2 separate regions of the Homo sapiens genome follow, and region 1 is linked to region 2. The links are contacts of gene promoters, found by promoter capture Hi-C in blood cells and fetal thymus (Javierre and others, 2016). All regions are on one chromosome and are shown on one strand. The core of a region is centred on a gene start or on the middle of the fragment in contact, and the rest is flanking DNA. Distances in the headings are between cores, read along the strand shown.

What was found. The method cuts DNA at HindIII sites, captures the fragments that hold promoters and counts their contacts. A CHiCAGO score of 5 or more calls a contact.
Region 1: a contact is called between the fragment with the promoter of COMMD9 here and the fragment with the promoter of EIF3M in region 2, in 1 of 17 cell types (non-activated CD4 T cells). The highest score is 6.1, in non-activated CD4 T cells.

What each region holds. Positions count from the first base shown.
Region 1 is chr11:36,288,022-36,290,953 of GRCh38, forward strand. It overlaps COMMD9 (COMM domain containing 9), which reads right to left and starts at 1,403. Exons shown (of 6, transcript NM_014186.4): 1 at 1,341-1,403. The coding sequence starts at 1,391. RefSeq lists enhancers at 765-1,467, 1,304-1,553. The HindIII fragment of the contact is 8,947 bases long and covers 1-1,720 here.
Region 2 is chr11:32,582,174-32,585,453 of GRCh38, forward strand. It overlaps EIF3M (eukaryotic translation initiation factor 3 subunit M), which reads left to right and starts at 1,658. Exons shown (of 11, transcript NM_006360.6): 1 at 1,658-1,756. The coding sequence starts at 1,715. RefSeq lists enhancers at 1,369-2,021, 1,664-1,813 and a silencer at 1,444-1,503. The HindIII fragment of the contact is 5,112 bases long and covers 1,373-3,280 here.

The DNA of each region.
Region 1 (2,932 bases), core at 153-2,652, 3.7 Mb after region 2:
GGTAGGTACAGAGCAGCCAAAATGAAGGTGAAAAGGCACTGGGTTGGGAGCTGAGAGCCCTAGATTGCCAGTCCCAGCTCTGTTACTTCATTTATTAATTCATTTAACAGCTATTTACTGAGCACGTGCTGTGTGCCAGGTATTATTGTTCTACTTATTGGGCATTAACACTTGTGAACAAAAGAGTAGATCCCCTTAGGAGTGGAGAATGCTAATGAACACTGAGAAGGCAATTAAAAAATAAATAAGTAAAACAAAACAGAGACTATTACATGGACCGATGATGATGATGTGCCATAAATTGAGGAGAGTAACTCAACCCTCTTCACCTGGTGTTTAAAAAAAAAAAAAAAGAGAGAGGAAGAAAGGAAAGGTCCCTGATGGATCTTACATTCTTATGAGACAGACGGACAACGGGCAAATAGCTAGCGACAAGTTCTACGAAGGAAAATAAAGCTGCCCTTTCTCCTACAGGGCAAATCATAAGTTAAATAATTCCGGCCAGGCGCGGTGGCTCACGCCTGTAATCCCAACACTTTGGAAGGCGGAGGCGAGTGGATCACGCGGTCAGGAGTTCAAGACCAGCCTGGCCAAGATGTTGAAACCCCGTCTCTACTAAAAATACATAAATTTGCCAGGCTTGGTGGCGGGCGCCTGTAATCCCAGCTACTCGGAAGGCTGAGGCATAGAATTGCTTGAACTCGGGGGGCGGAGGTTGCAGTGAGCCGAGATTGCGCCACTGCTCTCCAGCCTGGACAACAGAGCTAGACTCCGTCTCAAATAATAATAATACTTCATTTGAGCTTTACAAAGCCCTATGAAGTAGGTCCCTTTCAACCTCACAACTTTTCAAATGATTATCAGGAGTATGTCCTGCCCCTTTCGCAGGTCAAAGAGAGTAGGGAAAATCTGGACCTCAAGGGAACATTGAACGCACAGGTCATTCGGAGGGCTGGGCAGACGCAGTAGGAGATAATTTCTTAATTGTGCAATGCAGGAGGGGCTACGGGATGAAATGGGGAACTGACAACGTGGGTCTAGCAATTACCACTTCAATGCACCAATACCGAAAACCAATCCCAAAGACTAATAGCAGGAGGTTGTACTGCGCCTTCATGCCCATTATTTTATTTTTTTTTATCTTACGTTCCTGTCAAAACGATATTTTGTTCTTACTTTTTAAAAGCTCAGAAAGACGCAACGATTTGCCTGGGATCACACAGAGAACAAGCAGCAGAGTTGTGGCTCCAAACCAGGGTCAATTTGTTCCCAATTCCTGCTCCGTCTAAAGTCTCGGAGACAAAGGGCCACCTCACGCTGTCCCCACCCCTTCGACTTACCTTGAGCAGGCTCTGGAGTGCTGCAAAATGCTCCGCTGTCAGGGCAGCCATCTTGCCGAAGTCACATGACCGTGGCACCCAGGGAAGCGAGGTCACGTGGCTGTCGCTGTTGTCGCGGGGCCTGCCGGGGGCTGTAGTCCTTCAGAGTGGGGGAAGGCGTTTCGGTTGTGGTGCTGCGGCAGTGAGCGCGGATCAAGACGGACGCGGCGGCTGGATGACTAAACCCCGAGACTCTAGAACCAAAGGACTAGGGGGACCAGGGCGGAGGATGGTTTACTCGGGGAGGAAATTGGCTTGACTTGTCTACTTACCAAGTCAGGGAAACAGGTTTTCCCTTGACCCATGTGGGTGGGCTGGCGCACTTGGGGAATGCACCTGCAAGCTTGGCAGGCGCCTTGGAAACGTAGTTGTTCAGGAGTGATCGGCGTACCAGTGTTTGGAATGAAAATGAGGCTGTGCATATCGGGCTTCTTGGAATTGACACACACACATGCACACATCCTGTCTTGAATGTAAAATTACTTCTGCGTATATAGTTTTTCAGCCTATGTAGTAGGTTGGAGCTGGTATTATTAGTATTATCCAGATTGGGAAATAATCATTTAGGGTTTTTAGTAACTTTCCCATAGTCATAGAGAAGATCTGATTACAAGAGCAGGTGAGGAAGTGTTTGGGAGAGGGGACAAGAGAGGAATGGAATGAAAGCTACTACCTAGCTAGGTTCTTGTTATACGGGGGTGAGATGGGGGAGGAGGTTAATGGAAATGATTTAGTTCATTTATTCAAAAAGGTAATTATAATGAATATAATTGTAAAGAGTGATTTTGCACTGGCAGTACTGGACTCTGATTTGCCCTGTTCTCAGAGACCGTACATCAAAACAGACATTTCCTTTATCTACCTTTAGTATTTGGGTGGCTCTTTTCTTTTCCTACCCTCCACTTTTTTTTAAGCAAATTCCAGCTCAAAAAATGGGTTCTGATATATTCGAGCTTAAGAAAGAATGCCCATTTGTGAAATTCCAGAAATTGGTAAGCTGCTAAGGACATTTGTTCCTTTGTCTCCTCTCCTCCCCCTTCCCCTTCCCCGACTCCATTTTCTGTGGGGATGTTGTCAAGGCCCAGGAAACCAAAAATCAAATTGTCTAAGGAGGAACCCATTCCTGGATTAGAAGATTTTAGAACCATTTTGTCACAGGGTCCTGATTCTAGCTCTCTTTCTTGGCCTCTCTTTTCCATGAACCCTCATGGCCTGATTCCTGGTTTCTGTTATAACTCAATGTAGGTTCTAGGTTTAACTCCTGCCTGTATCTATAGGGCTGGGCCCATTGTCTTGGGTTAATTGAATATTTGTTAAATAAACAACCACCCAAAAAAGTGATTAGACTAAGATGAAATTTTGTGACTTATTTGAGGATATTGCCTTGGTATTTGCAGGATTGTGCCTTCTTGTCTTACTTTAGAGTAATGAGGAGTGTGGTCACCAGCCTTCAAGATGGCCCTCAATGATCCCAGCCTCCTGGTGTTCACAACCTAGTGTAGACACCTCCCACCATGTACCAGGATTGGTATGCATGACCAATAGCAAATGGT
Region 2 (3,280 bases), core at 408-2,907:
TTATATAAATGGAATCATACAGTATGATGATTAACTGAACAAAATTATTTTGAATTATTTTGGGATTGTCAACTAAAGAAAAAAAATCAAGCTTTTATTTTAAGAGATGGAGTCTCACTCACTTTGTCACCCAGGCTGAAGAGACTGAAAAAAAAAAAAGATTCATCTGTGTTTTTGCATGTATCAATAATTCATCCTTTTTTGTTGCACAGCAGTATTCCATTAAGCAGATGTATAACAATTTTTTGATCCACTTCATTCATCTATTGATGAACATTTGGGTTGTTTCCTTTTTTTTGGCTATTGAAAATAAAGTGTTAACTTTTTGGAAACTGTCTCCTGAAAAAGCTAAACATAAATTTACTAAATAAGCCACTGATTCCTCTCATAGGTACATACCTAAGAGAAATATACGTACACACAAAATCTTGTGCACTAACGTTCATGGAAACATTATTCATAATAGCCAAAAAATGGAGACAACCCAAGTGTCCACCAACTGATGAACAAATCAACACAATGTGGTATATCCATAACAATGCAATATTATAAGCAATAAATAGGAATATAGGAGGGATACATGGACGAACCTTGAAAACATTATGCTAAATGAAGTAAGTCTGACTTAGGCCACCGTGTATTTTGTGATTCCACTTACATGAAATGTCCAGAAAAGGCAAATTCATAGAGACAAAATGTAGTGTTTGCCAGGGGCTGGAGAGAGGTGGGGCCGGGGGTCTGGGGAGTGATTGCTGATGGGTAGTTTCTTTTGTAGGTGATGAAAATGTTCTAAAATTAAATAGTAGTGATGGTTGTGCAACTCTGAAAATACTAAAAACTACTGAATTGTGTATTTATTTTATGAGACGGAGTCTCGCTCTGTCGCCCAGGCTGGAATGCAGTGGCATGATCTGGGCTTACTGCAACCTCCTTCTCCCAGGTTGAAGTGATTCTCCTGCCTCAGCCTCCCGAGTAGCTGGGATTACAGGCGCGCACCACTATGCCCCGGTAATTTTTGTATTTTTAGTAGAGACGGGGTTTTGCCATGTTGCCCAGGCTGGTCTCCAGTTCCTGACCCCAAGTGATCCGCCCACCTCGGCCTCCCACAGTGCTGGGATTACAGGCGTGAGATCCACTGCGCCCAGCCAAAGCTGCTATTTTTTAAAAGCGGCAATGAACATTCTTGTACAAGTCTTTGTACGGACATACAGTTTGGGTAGAAGAATAGCTGGGTCATATGCTGGGTGGATACTGAACTTTTTCAGAAACTGCCGCTCCTCTGCAAAGTGACTGCACCATTTTATGTTCCCAACAGCAGTACAGGAGAGTTTCAGGTCTACACAAACCCATCCATACTTGGTAAGACCCAACAAGCTTAACATTTCAAGGGAAGGTGGACTTAGGGAGGCGCCAGCGGGAGGCAACATCAATGCAGTTAGCTACACGGGCCTGAAAACTGGAGGCCGCGACAAGCGTCGCTGAGTGGAGGCCCAGTAAGTCCCACCCACTAGGCCAGCCCGAGCGCGTCTGCCACGCCCTGCTGCATTCCGCGGCGAGAGCGCGCGATAGGATTGGCTCTCAAGGCCCCGCCCCAACAGGTCGCCGCTCAGGGTGACCCGGAAGCAGTTGCGCCAGCAGCGTCGCGCGGCCCAGTTCCCTTTTCCGGTCGGCGTGGTCTTGCGAGTGGAGTGTCCGCTGTGCCCGGGCCTGCACCATGAGCGTCCCGGCCTTCATCGACATCAGTGAAGAAGATCAGGTGTGCTTCGGTCTACGGGTGCCGCCACGGTGGGGTGGGGGATGTCCTAGTAGCGCAAGGGACCGCTGCCGAGCCTGGGCCGGGCGGCCGGGGCTGACACCCGCAGCTGTTCTACACGCGAGAATGGGGAGGCCGGTGGCTGGGGCGCGCGTTCCTGGCCTCGATTCGCACCAGCTCGCCGGCCGGCGGTCCCAGCGCGGGGCCCGACGCTTCACCGCCAGCTCCCTGGTCGGCGTCGGGACTCATTTCTGACGACATAGTACTTTTAGACTGATGAGGAATGATGTCTGCTTCCGTCCGTCAAATGCAGCCACATTCGGAGTGGGAGGTGGTGAATCTGTAGTTAGCATAAGCAGGGTAGGGAAAAGTAATTTTGTGCTAAAGATCAAAATGCCGGGCCGGGCGCGGTGGCTCACGCCTTTAATCCCAGCACTTTGGGACGCCGAGGCGGGCAGATCACGAGGTCAGGAGATCGAGACCATCCTGGCTAACACGGTGAAACCCTGTCTCTATTAAAAATACAAAAAAATTACCCGGGCGCGGTGGCACGCGCCTGTAGTCCCAGCTACTGCCGAGGCTGAGGCAAGAGAATCGCTTGAACCCGCGAGGCGGAGTTTGCAGTGAGCCAAGATCGCGCCACTGCACTCCAGCCTGGGCGACAGAGCGAGAGTCCCTCTCAAAAAAAAAAAAAAAAAAAAAGATCAAAACGCCCGTATTACTGTGCGATCACAGGCGAAGACGACCCGTATTTTACACTTGCTTTCTATTCCTACTTGTATGAGGGTGAGAGTTGTTCTGTACCCCGGAAGTATGGTATCAGTTCAGCTCTTAAATTCTGTGAGGCATACACCTGATGGACCATCCTGATATTTTTAAATTTCCCGTTTGGCGTTTGCTCTTTGGTATACAGGGCTGATGGTTCTCATTTTCCCCATAACAAAAGTTTAACCTTATTTGGTAGGAGTTGAACACGACATCGTATTCTTTAAGTTAATTTTGTATTGCTGAAAATTCTTCTGTGAAGTCCTAACTTTGTCGTTTTATTTCTGTTACTCCACTAACACGGAAGTAACTTCCAAATGATTGGATATCATAAACTTCGCATGGAAGTTTACTTGTCTAAGACAACTTACAGAATTGCGGGAGTGAGTTCCCCCTCTCTCCTCCCCCCGCCCCATGGTAGGAATGCAGTTCCGATGCTCTGAAGAGCAAAGTAAGAAGGGAAAATGCAAAAGGCGGAGAAAAGGTCAAGGATGGGGAGGTTAAGCACAGATAGGAAGATATGAAAGACAAAAAGATACCTGATTAGAAATGGAAGCATGTTACCAACAGTTGGCTGTTAGGTTAACTGAGAAAGTGTTTGGAATTTTTTTTTTTTTAACATACAAAGTGAATGGAGGAAGTTCTTGTCATTGATCGTATCTTAAAGTGTCTTTTCTCAGGCTCTGCTTCTGTTCTTGTAACATCAGTATCGCTGTAGACAGTCCTTTCAGGGAAATATGAAATTGCTCAGGATTAGTTTAA